Regions from separate parts of the Homo sapiens genome. Here region 2 is linked to region 1. Evidence: promoter capture Hi-C in human tissues and cell types (Jung and others, 2019). All regions are on one chromosome and are shown on one strand. The core of a region is centred on a gene start or on the middle of the fragment in contact, and the rest is flanking DNA. Distances in the headings are between cores, read along the strand shown. Region 1 holds the start of CALML4 (calmodulin like 4). Region 2 has its middle 58 kb from the start of PIAS1.

Evidence for each region. Contacts are between HindIII fragments. The study calls those that stand out against the background at their distance.
Region 2: a contact is called between a fragment that was not itself captured here and the fragment with the promoter of CALML4 in region 1, in 2 of the 25 tissues and cell types used here (IMR-90 fibroblasts and adrenal gland).

The regions. Positions count from the first base shown.
Region 1 is chr15:68,201,217-68,207,441 of GRCh38, forward strand. It overlaps CALML4 (calmodulin like 4), which reads right to left and starts at 4,116. Exons shown (of 5, transcript NM_033429.3): 1 at 4,029-4,116; 2 at 3,905-3,935. The coding sequence starts at 4,031. CLN6 (CLN6 transmembrane ER protein) reads right to left here. Exons shown (of 7, transcript NM_017882.3): 7 at 5,776-6,225. RefSeq lists enhancers at 1-76, 4,815-5,109. The HindIII fragment of the contact is 22,474 bases long and covers 1-6,225 here.
Region 2 is chr15:67,993,416-67,999,640 of GRCh38, forward strand. No RefSeq gene overlaps it. Among named protein-coding and RNA genes, the nearest start is that of PIAS1, 58 kb to the right of the region's middle. The HindIII fragment of the contact is 3,828 bases long and covers 862-4,689 here.

The sequences.
Region 1 (6,225 bases), core at 2,866-5,365:
CAGAGCCTGAGCTTCCGAAGGGGCAAACCAAAGTCAGGACCAGGTGGCAGGGGCCAAAAAGGCCCAGGGGAAGCAGGGCCAGAGCCTGGCCTAAGACCCCAGGTTTAGTTCCCATAAAACCCAATTGCCTGCAAGAGGGCCCAGTGCCAGAGGGGACAATGCCATCACCTCACGTCAGGGGGACAGAGAGAGGGCTGCCCCAATCACAGAGCTTAACCTTAGCACTACAGGGGGTACCCCTGGGGACCTCTCATGGCCACCCTCACCTTGTCTTTCTGTCTGGGTTTGCCCTTGGGTGAGGGTGGGCCCAAGGCCCACTGCTCTCCCTGCCTGACCTGTGCTGGAAGGTGCTCATCACACCCTTGGGGTCCAGAATCAGCCTGGATCTGCAGATGGGGGCACTTCACTACTCCCCGACAAGCCCTGTCAGTCACTGGGGGCCTGTGGTCCTTGCCAGCAGCAGGGCCAGGGCTCAAATAGAGGCCCACCTCCTCACAAACCTTCACATCAGATACGTGCTGTCTCCCTGCCTCAGACGCCTTTAAAGACCTGGAAGGCCACATCTGAACTTTGCATTCCTGCACTGGAACAAGACAACAGGGTGCTGGAGACCCAGCTGGGCTTCCTGCTGGCCCCTTCCTCCACCATCTCTTCACTCTCCCTCCTCACCTCCTGGCTCTCCTTCCTGCTTTTTCTCCTGACAGGTCGGCCCTCTAACATACTAGCACATATATTTCACCACGTTCCCCTCCCTCGATGGTGACCCCCTGTGAGGAAGGGATTTTTGTCTTTGAGTTCACTGTTGTATGTAGCTCCAGGCACAAAGAAGGGACACAAACATTTGTTGAATGAAAGGATTAATTGGGTTAAATGAATTGGATTAAAAATCCCCTTTAAGTCTTCTCTTTGAAAATGCAAATCCCCCAGGACAAGAAAGAGACCTGTGCAAGGCCTAGGATAACACCAGCTGTGCTGGATGTTTAACCACCAGCTCTGATCATAAATGTACTTGTGTCCTCTGCACTGTACAAACATAAAGGATGTGTAGCACACAATTTACAAATAATACAGAAATGTACACTATTCTTTATTATAAATTCCATCTAGGGCTGGGTGCAGTGGCTCACGCCTGTAATCCCAGCACTTTGGGAGGGTGAGACAGGAGTATCGCTTGGGCCCAGGAGTTCGAGACCAGCCTGGACAATATAGTAAGACCTCATGTCTACAAAATATTTACAAATGTTTTGTGTGTGGTGGTGCATGCCTGTAGTCCCAGCTACTCAGGAGACAGAGGTGGGAGAATCCCTTGAGTCTGGGTGGTGAAGGTTGAAATGAGCGGAGATCATGCCATTGCACAGAGCAAGACTCTGTCTCAAATAAATAAATTCCATCTAGCCACTTGATTACCACAAATGAGTTTTGCCAACTTTTTTTTTTTTTTTTTTTGAGAGAGTTTTGCTCTTGTTGCCCAGGCTAGAGTGCAATGGCACAATTTCAGCTCACTGCAGCCTCCACCTCCCAGGTTCAAGTGATTCTCCTGCCTCAGCCTCCCAAGAAGCTGGGATTATAGGCATGTGCCACCATGACCGGCTTTTTTTTTTTTTTTTTTTTTTTTGAGACAGAGTCTCGCTCTTGTTGCCCAGGCTGGAGTGTAGTGGCTCAATCTCGGTTCACTGCAACCTCCGCCTCCTGGGTTCAAGTGATTCTCCTGCCTCAGCCTCCTGAGTAGCTGGAATTACAGGTGCCTGCCAGCACACCAGGCTAATTTTTGTACTTTTAGTAGAGATAGGGTTTCACCATGTTGGCCAGGCTGGTCTCAAACTCCTGACCTCAGGTGATCTGCCTCCCTCGGTCTCTCAAAGTGCTGGGATTACAGGCATGAGCCAACTGCACCTGGCCAGTTTTGTATTTTTAGTAGAGATGGGGTTTCACCATGTTGGCCAGGCTGGTTTCAAACCCCTGACATCAGGTGATCCACATGCCTCGGCCTCCCAAAGTGCTGGGATTACAGACGTGAGCCACTGCACTCAGCCCAAGTTTTGCCAACTCTTATATCCATTGCCAACCTATAGTTTCGATTCAACCATGATTTGACAAATGAAGCTGCGCGCCAATGAGTGCGATTCTTTTTCCAATGAATGAATGGTCATTAAACCTGATGTGATCTACTGTTAAACTATTTCTCACCCTTTTACCAAACACATTCATTAAATTGAAACTTCTTTCAAATCTCCATCTCCACTGATCACAATAGGGCTGTCTTTTTAACTTTTTGTACAGATAGATGTAGGGATTGAAACACTGTTTGATCCTACATTATTTAATAATGGCTGGCTTTAACATCCTGCTTGCAAAATTCCTAAAACTATGGCTCTTGCTAGCTGTAGTGAGCCAGCCCCAGCCCACATGTGGGTGACACCTGGCTATGCCTGGCCCAGCGTCCAGCATGTAACTGACATTATTCCCCTCTGTCCGTGGCTCGCAGCAGCCTGGTAAGGTGGCATATCCTACTTCATAGGTGAGAAAACCGAGGCTCAAGGGTGATTAGGCTTCAGGTCTGCTGCCTCCAAAGCCCCTGTTCTTCCCACTTCGCTAGGCCACCCCATCCAGTCTTTCACACACTCATTAAACACTGGTGGCCACTTTCTTGGTGTCAGATACTGGGATACAAAGACAATTTACCTTCTTCCCTTCTGGGAGCTTTGGCTATCCCAGGAGGGAGGGTCAGTGAGCCTCAAAACCAGGCATGGGTGGGAGGATGCTGAGGCTGAAGGCTGGACTCCAGCCCTCAGTCCACCATTCATTATCACCGTTAGACCTGGACAAGAGGGCACTGCCCCGGGCCCTGTGTTTTAAAAGTCCCTGCTCCTGCCCTGGCCCTCCTCTTGGGATAAAGAGTTCCAGGGTTCTACGTGGAGGTGCCCACCTGGAGCTCACAATTCCTGCCCCTCTGGACCAAGCTCAGAATACCCAGAACTCTGGAACTCCTGCCCAGGTAACCCTAACCCCACTTGGCTGGGCTCTCAGGACCCTACCCTGGATCACAAGGGCCCAAGGTGCCTGTAATTTTATCTCCAGTGGTCAGCGAAGGACTCACTGAGAAGGCGATGTTTCAGCAAAGACCTGGAGGAATGGGATGCCTCGGGGGACTCTCAGGCCCATTGACGTCCACTGTTGGGACAGGTTTCAGGGTCACAACCTCAAGCAGCAGCTGGCTGTGCCTCCTGGGCCTCTCCTGCCAGGTGCAGGGGGGCTGCAGCCATGAGGCTCCCCTGGCTCAGGTCTGGGCCCCCAAGTTCTTTGTAACGCAACTCTTTGCTCTTGGCCTTCTGGAAATAGAACCCTGCACGGTGTGAAACTGAAGCCTGGTCGAGGGCTGGCAGAGTAGGGGACCCAGGGAATAAAGTGCTCACGCCCAAACCAGGCTTGATGCCAGGGCAAAGGGGGCTCAGTGGACCCTCCATTTTACAGATAGGGAGACTGAGGCGCAGAGAGTAGACGCATCCTGCCAGAGAGTGCAGACCTGGCCTCTGTTCTGTCTCAATTACAAAGCCCCTCCTCTTTCCCTGCTGCCAGCCATACCTTTAATGGTCTCTCTCTCCATCCCCAGTCCCCTCAGTCCCCAAATCCAACTGGTCAGGTTCTGGAGGGAAACCTAGTAAGTTCTGTCTTAGCGCCCTGGCTTGTAAGTCACACTGACAAGTATAAAGCCACATGTCTATTTTGGAGGCTTACCCCCAACCCCCACCCCGCCAACAGCAGCCTCCCCGCAGCTCTTGGCCCTGGGTGGGCCCAGCTCTCCCACAGCCACCTTCCTTCCCACCAAGAAAACATGAGCAGAGCAAATTGCCTAATGAGACCCATATTTTGCTGAGTTGCTAATCAAAGAACAAACCCAACCTACCATTAATTTGGTCTTGGGAAAGAAACTTGGCCTGCAGCAGAGAAAGGAAAACAGTCAGGGGAGGGCTCCACCTGAGGTTCACGCCCCCAGCCCTGGCCAGGCCGACACAGACCCTCACACTCACCATTCTGGGGCCTCGGCTGCTACCCGTGGGCTTGCTGCTCCCAGAACCGCGTTCAGTTCCCTTTCCTCCAGCCTCAAGTCTAAAGTCTGCCAAGCTGGGTGGAGGCCCGGGTAATAAATGCTCGGCTGCCATGGAGACTGGGCCCGACGCCACCAGGGTCAGATTCCAGCTTCCTGAGCACAGCTCATGACCCGCCACCTGGGCAGGTTGGATTTTTGAGGAAATGGGGCTGCAGAAGGCTCTCCCTGGGCTCAGAGTCTCTGCCTCCAGAAGCCGAAGCAAAGGGACAAATGCCAGTGTTTCTTCCCGGGAGCCCTGGACTCCAGGAAGGGGTCTTCTCTCTCTCTCCTGGGACTCGGCGGGGATGCCATCAGGCCCCTACTAGAGTTGGACACTTTACACCCCGGGTCGTATTGAAGGCTCCTCACACACCATCTTGTAGGAGGAAGGGAACCCTTCCAAGACGGCCTAACTCAGAGATGGGCACCGGGGCTCGCAGGCTTGGGGCTCGGTATTGCAGGGATACAAGCTTCGGTGCTCTCAGGCTGGGATTCAGTCCTCCCCGTCTGCTGACTTGCTGAGTGACTGGCGAATCATTCTACCTCAGTCTGTGCCTCAGTTTCCTCACCAGCTGAATTACAGGGCAGCTGGCAAAATCAAGTGGCCAGCGCACAGCCGGTTCCCATCCTGTGCCAGTTCAGTTCCCACCTTCTGAGGACTTTAAGGGTGGTGGAGGGGCCTGAGCCGGGTCTCCAGCCCCACCACAGGCTCCTCGGGGGCTTGGAGTGAGGCCTCTTAGTGCCGGTTACCCTGGCCAGGAAGGCTCCCCTTTTCTTCCTTCCCTTCCTCTCTCCACCCTCAGCCCCACCCCTTCCGCAGAAGCTGCTGACGCTCCCAAGTCTTCAGGAGTTCGTGCTGCTCCCCTCCCCCACATAGGAGGAAATGGGGGCAGGGTGTGAGGCCTCCCCAGCTTCTTCCCCTTGAGATCCCATTTCCCTGTTTGGGGCGTGAGGCTTTTGTCCACAGCTGAGTCTATGAGGCTCTACAAGTAGGTGTGGCTGCACAGGTGTGCCCTACACAAAGGCCCCCAGCCCAGGTGCGAGTGGTTGCTGGCCAGGGGCTGCACTGCCAATAGGAAGGGGGGCATTGTGCCACTTTGCACACAGGCGCATAGACGGGAGGCGCTGCCTGTGCCCCACTCTCCCCTCCCCGCTCCTTTCCTGACCGCCTCTGTGTGGAAAGTGTGCTTTTCTCCCAAATCACATCCCCAGAATCGCTTTACACCTGTTTCTAGACCCAGAGAATTTTAGCTGGGGACTCCGACTCCTCCCTGTCAGAGTTTGAGGCTCCCCCTCCCAAACCCCATGGCAGGGATAAGAGGAGGGAAGGCTGCCTCTGTGCAGAGGATGGAGAGAAGGACATCAAGGAAAGTCACTTGGGACTCTGGAAGCCTGAAGGCGGCCAGGCCAACATGCTCCCTCTGAATCCCCTTGCCTGTGGGAAGGGGCTCCAGAAGAGATGAGGTGCCTCCTTGGAGTTAGGCCAGTGTGTGCTGGGGTGCCCCGGCCAACTCCCTCCTTATGTGTGTAGGTGTCTCCGGGGGTGACGCACAGATGGAAAACACCAGCGTGGGGCAATGGCTGCGTGAGGGTTCACGATACAGCAACTCACCATGCTGTAGGGCGCACCGTGTGTGCTACACCTCAGCACGAAAGGGAGAAAAGACAAAAAACACCTCTAACACCACTTGGGGCTGTGACTGTATTTACTTCATTCTTGAATCCCGCGTCCCCGTGGCTGGGGGCTGACACATCCCTGGGCACCACTGTGACTTCCTGTGGGTCCCTTCCCTTCTGTCCCTGACTCTGTAGACCCCCCACAGGAAGGGTCCTAGGTAGGGGGAGGTTCCTCCTCCCTTGAAACCCTGGGCCACTCTGTCAAGGCAAAGCCTCTGGGCCCAGCACCTTGTAAAGGCTTTGATGAGAGGAGCTCTGGCTTTTGCTCAGGGCCTTTGGCACCCCACCCTCCAGCCCCCAGGAATGCAGGCGCTCAAAGCCTGTGGCTAGGCTGCCCGAAGCGCGTGCCGCAGTTCTTCTGGAGTGGGAGCAGGGGGACAGAGCTTTGGGTAGAGGAGGGTCACCTGCAAAGCTGGAATGCCAGGGGAGTGGGCGGTGCCTCCAGCTCCTGGGGGCCAGGG
Region 2 (6,225 bases), core at 1,526-4,025, 210 kb before region 1:
AGCAATTCTCCTGCCTCAGCCTCCCAAGTAACTGGGATTACAGGCACATGCCACCATGCCTGACTAATTTTTGTATTTTTAGTAGAGATGGGGTTTCACCATGTTGGCCAGGCTGGTCTCGAACTCCTGACCTCAAGTGATCTGCTTGCCTCAGCCTCCTAAAATGGTGGGATTACAAGCGTAAGCCACCACACCTGGCCAAGAAAGCATAATCTGAAGGTCAGTCCTGGGGTTAGGTCAGAACTTCCCTCCTACCCTGCTTGGAGTTAAGGATATAGTGCTTGTTACTTGTCCCCCAACTCCAGAGTCAGCTTCAAAGATTTGACTGTGTATTTGTACAATTAGAAGAGTAATCTCTAGGAAACAAGCAGCTCAGTAATGAAATGTTACAATCCCAGCAGGGCCAAGCAAGCCTATTGTGGTGCTTTCTAGGCAGAAGGAGGCTTAAGGAAAGGATCAAGCACATTGCTGCTAAGAATGTGCAATACCAACTCCACTGAGAGAGAAGCACGGTTGCAAACTAGGGGACAATTAGATGTTTTCCTTCTTTGTGGATTTGGAAGAGTGGTTGCAAACACAGATGCCTCTAAGGGCAACACAGATAATATAAATAAGTGAATCAGCCTGGGTGTAGGGCAGCAGGGAGCAGTGGGGACTGTGGCTGAGAGTGCCTGTCCTACCTAAAGGATTTCCAATTCTCAGGTATTTTTAAAAACGTAGTACTGGCCAGCCGGACGCGGTGGCTCACACCTGTAATCCCAGCACTTTGGGAGGCCGAGATAGGCGGATCATGAGGTCAGGAGATCGAGACCATCCCGGCTAACACGGTGAAACCCCGTCTCTACTAAAAATACAAAAAAATTAGCCGGGCCGTGGTGGCGGGCACCTGTAGTCCCAGCTACTCAGGAGGCTGAGGCAGGAGAATGGCATGAACCCAGGAGGTGGAGCTTGCAGTGAGCCGAGATCACGCCACTGCACTCCGGCCTGGGCGACAGAGCAAGACTCAGTCTCAAAAAAAACAAAACCAAAACCAAAAACAAAAAAAAACTCATAATACTGGCCAAATAGAAGATGTTTGCAGGCTTCGTTTGGTTTTAGGACTTTAGACTGAAAACATTACAGATATGTGTGTATCCAATCTATCTAATTTATCCATTACTTAATGGCAAAAACTGAAATTACTTTTGCACCAACCTAATAAAAGTTATGCACTGGTGGCCGGGCGTGGTGGCTCACACCTGTAATCCCAGCACTTTGGGAGGCCGAGGCAAGCAGATCACTTGAGGTCAGGAGTTCAAGACTAGTCTGGCCAACATGATGAAACCCTGTCTCTACTAAAAATACAAAAATTAGCCAGGTGTGCTGGCACACACCTGTAATCGCAGCTACTTGGGAGGCTGAGGCAGGAGAATCACTTGAACTCGGGAGGCAGCGCTTGCAGTGAGCTGTGATTGTGTCACTACACTCCAGACTGGGTGACAGAGCAAGACTCCATCTCAAAGTAAAATAAAATAAAATAAAAGTTATGCCCTGGTTAATCAGAAAAATAAAGAAGCATACCTGATCCTCCGGATGGTAGTTCTGTTTTATGGAACAGTGTGCCTCTGCTGACTGTGATCAGTCCTGCTGACCCTGGATATCATCCCAGACTCAATAACTCAGACTTAAAGAATGGTATTGAGGAGAAGGAGATGCTTTGGGGTAAGATCAAGCCCTAGACTTTGAAGGTGAGATTTCCTGAAAAGTGGGAGAAGATTTGCAAGCCAGAGTAAAAAGATGTGCAAGTCAGATCTGTAAGGCAGAAGCACAAAGGAGGAAGCTTTCTCAGAGAAGCCTGAGGCTGGGGCACAGGATTAGAGACTGGTAGGGCCCCAGGTAGGACTGAGTTGTGCAACATGGCAGCCCTGGGGAGGGTTTAACTTATTGATGTGCTCCGTCAAACTATGAAAAATTATATAGCACGCAAGCTTAAAATGTTTCCCACTACTACACAGAGATTCCCCTAGATATCTTATCCTCCTAGTTTCGCCTCATATGACATTGCTGTGGAGATAAAGAGGTCAGGCAGAGGAGGAGAGTGGCCTCTCCCTCCTGTGAGAAAAGGCACTTGCTCCCAACAGGATCAGGAGTGAGGACTCAGATGGTCCTCGCAAGCCATCAGGGGGAGCATGTGGTGTTGAAGAGACCCTGCCGTTCAAACCTCCTTGCTGGTAGTGACACTGAGGGACTGGAACCCCTTAAGGGGAAGCAGCTGAGGTTTGGGCCAGCTCAGGTGAAGCAGGCTGGCTGCCCTCTGCCCTAATCCTCTGAAGGAGCTGGAGGTAAGAAATGCTCTGACTCTCTCACAGGAGGGCTGGAAGACCCAGTTCAGTGGGAACTGTAAAATGCTTGGGAAAACAGAGACCCCTATTAATGCAAAATATTATTATGAACCCTCCCTCCCCACATACTTTTCAACCTCATGAGGTGTTGTCTTTAAGGCCCAGTCTGGTTTAAATTATAAGATGAATAAACTCACCTGACCTGACAAGCAAATGTTCTGCTGGACCCACAGAGCCTTGGAAAGAGCAGCCTTTGCTTCTCCGCCCGTTTAGGAGGAGCAACCCTGTGGGCCTGTGGGAAATGCATGGACTGGGTGTCTGGCAGGTCTGGGTTTGAAGCTCAGCTTCATGAGCAGTGGGCCTTGGCCTTGCTGCGCCTCATTTTCCCCCCCTCACAGGGCTGTCTTGAGGCTGGGTGGAGTAGTCCTCTGGAAGCCCTGAAGGTTTGACCGTTCTAAAGCAGTGTTTCAGGTGAATTTATACATTGATGGGAAGGAAAGAAAGTCTGTTGGATTTTTAGACGATGCTTATGCTTTGGATACAATCAAGCTCTTTCCCCAAGGGCCAGACCAGGGACAAATGAGCTGTATCCCTAGTAAGCTAGCTTTCTTTTAATATGAGGATGTATTATTTGCCACAAAGGACAAATGTGAAACTACCTCTTGATCAGTCACAGACTGTGGGCCTCTTGGGAGTCTGGGAGGTCACAGGTCAAGGCCTAGAGAAATGGCTGTGTCCTAGGATTAGGGACAGTGGAACTGCTTTCTCTCCTGAGGCCTCTTTGGTGTGGTCATGGGGTGCTGCTGATGTCTGCAGCCCTCTGGGCACTCTCTCAAAGCTGCCCTGTAGCTGGAACATCTATCTGCATCCCTACTCAGCGCAGAGGCAGTGAAATGGCAGCAAACAACTCCCTTCTATTTCCTGGTGGCTTGTTCTCTGGGACACGGAGAAGAGCATGGTGACTGCCAGGTTTCAGGCCTATCTAGCAGGGCAATGAGAGCTCCTGGGCACCTGAGGATTCAGAACCACTTCTTTCTTTCTTTTTAATTTTTTTTTTTTTTTTTTTTTTGAGACAAAGTCTTGCTCTGTCGCCAGGCTAGAGGGCAGTGGTGCGATCTTGGCTCATTGCAACCTCCGCTTCCCAGGTTCAAGCAATTCTCCTGCCTCAGCCTCCTGAGTAGTTGGGATTACAGACACACACAACCATGCCCAGCTAATTTTTGTATTTTTAGTAGAGACGGGGTTTCACCGTGTTGGCCGGGATTGTCTCGATCTCTTGACCTCATGATCCGCCTGCCTTGGCCTCCCAAAGTGCTGGGATTACAGGCATGAGCCACCGTGCCCGGCCCAGAACCACTTCTTAATTGAAGAGAACATCTTCCTTCTCTTTGTCTATGGGATAAAGTCCTATACCTGTAACCAAGGCCATACCCAAGGGTCCCCCAAATAGCTCAACTCAACTGGCTGATGCTCATGGGTAGCCATGACCCCTCCAGCCCATTGCCCAGCCTGTCACACGCTTCCTGCCTTTACACATGCCACTCCCTCACTTCCTATTTCTACCAGATGAACACCTGCCTGTTTATCAGTGTCTCTGAGAAAACATCCCCCTTTCCCCCCAAGAGCAAGGGCAAGGCTCTGCCTTCATTGCATCCTTAGCCCTCCAAGCTAGCTGATCTACTCTCACATCACTCCCCTGACCAGCATGTAGAAGCAATCCACACAGAAGCAGGCCTGGCATGAAGTGTGGTCCTGGGGCCCCTGTTGGGCCATCTTAACTCATTGGTTGCTTGATCATGAGGTGGGGCCCAAAGAAGTGACAGGGCTGCTGGGACTGAGGGAATTACTCAGGCAATTGATGCTGACTCTACCTTTTTGTGATCAATCTGGTCTCCTTGGTTCCAGGATTTGGAGCTCTGTGCTCCAGCAATGCAAGCTGCCTCTGAACCATTTGTCTTGTCCTCCTGCCCTAGGACTTTCCTTCTGCCTTTGACTTTAATTTTCTGCATGGATCCTGGACATGGTTCAAACTTCTGGTTCTAGTGGCCCAACTCTCTATGAAGAAGAATTCCCTGTCTCAGCCCCAGAATCTCAGGTTTTCACCCAGCTTGCTATCCTCAAGGGATAAATCAGACTCTTTCCTCTCTGCATCCCATCTTTTTGTTGTATAACTTATTTTGGGTTTTGCTTGTTTGTTTTTTGAGACAGGGTCTCGCTGTGTTGCCCATGCTGGGGTACAGTAGCATGATCACAGCTCACTGTAGGTTCAATTTTCTGGGCTTCAGTAATCCTTCTGCCTTAGCCTTCCCAGTAGCTGGGACCACAGGTGTGTGCCACCATACTCGGCTAATGTATTTTTATTTTTTGTAGAGGCAAGGTCTCACTATGTTGTCCAGGCTGGTCTTGAACTCCTGGGCTCAAGTGATCCACCTGCCTTGGCCTCCCAAAGGGCTGGGATTATAGGCATGAGTCATCATGCCTGACCTAACTTATCATTTTGTCTTCTAACTATTTGTTTTCATGACTAAGCCCCTCCCTGGACTGTGAGCTATTTAAGGGCAGAGTGGATGTCATAACATATTTCATAAATTAATGCATGAATCAATGATGATCAGTGTCTGTAGTATTACAATCACTTGTAATGCTACAGATGATATTATAGCCCTATGAATTACATAGAAAATCATTTTTATCATCCATGACTTCCATTTCAAGTCTCCCAAGAGGGAGGAAAAAGAATCTCTGCCTGTCTGGCCCCACGTGGAGTCCAAGGAATATTATAGTTCTTTTCCTTGTATTTTTCTAACGCCACTACATTTTGGGGGGCTTATCCACCTTAGTACCTACTAAGTTCAAATTTGGACTAAGTCTGTAGCTCGGTTGTGCATTTTGAACTTCATCTTAAATTGGTCATGGCCCATTGCTACTGCTTCACATTTCCTCCGTCGTGTTTTCTCTTTTATTGCTTCTATAGGTTGTGAGTTAGGATAATAAAGTCAAGATAAAATTGCTCCAAGCCATTTGCAGCTCTGGGAAGCTGGCACAGGGCTGCCAGGAGCTGGCTGGGTGCCACCAAGAGGAAAAAATATTCTTCCGTGTTGCCAGCCTTATCAGGACTCCTCACAGTTTCTTGCCAAAATTTTAGGAAAACGATGATCTACTCCCCTGCAGCTATTCTGTATGTTTCTATAGGTGGGGAGTCTTTCAACAAGGATTTTCACTAAAAATACCTCTCATGTTTTTCCCCTGGTTTAAGACTGTAACTTGAGCTCCATATTGTGAAATACTGACATTGAGATATTAATCACTGTGCATAGTTGAGGCATCATTGTCATCATCATCAGCCACTCACACTAACTGAAAGTTTATAAGCTATGGAATCCCACTCAGGACGTGCTCATGAAAGAATAATTGGAGATTATTTTTTAACTGTGAAAAATGTTCTTTTGGAGGAATGAGGAATTGGGAAAATAGGAACAGATTATAGAAAGCTGGTAGGAAATCACAATTCTATTCTTTTATTTTCTTTCTGTTTGTTTTTCCAAGATAAAGGGTCTCCTTATGGTGCCCATGCTGGCCTTGAACTGGGCTCAAGTGATCCTCCCACCTCAGCCTGCCAAAGTGCTGGGATTATAGGCATGAGCCACTCTGCCTAGCCTAAAATTTTCAATTTTTTTATGGAGGTGTGGTCTCACTATGTTGTCCAGGCTGTTCTTGAACTCCTCCCTCCTCGGCCTCCCAAAGTGTTGGGATTACAAGCATGGGCCACTGTGCCCAGCCCACACAACTCTACTCTTTTAAATATTTGCTCTACATCTGTTTGATGCCACAACAATGACTCAATTCCGACAATTCAATTTATTTATATGGGTGTGGCTTTTTTTTCTTATTCGATGGGGGAGTT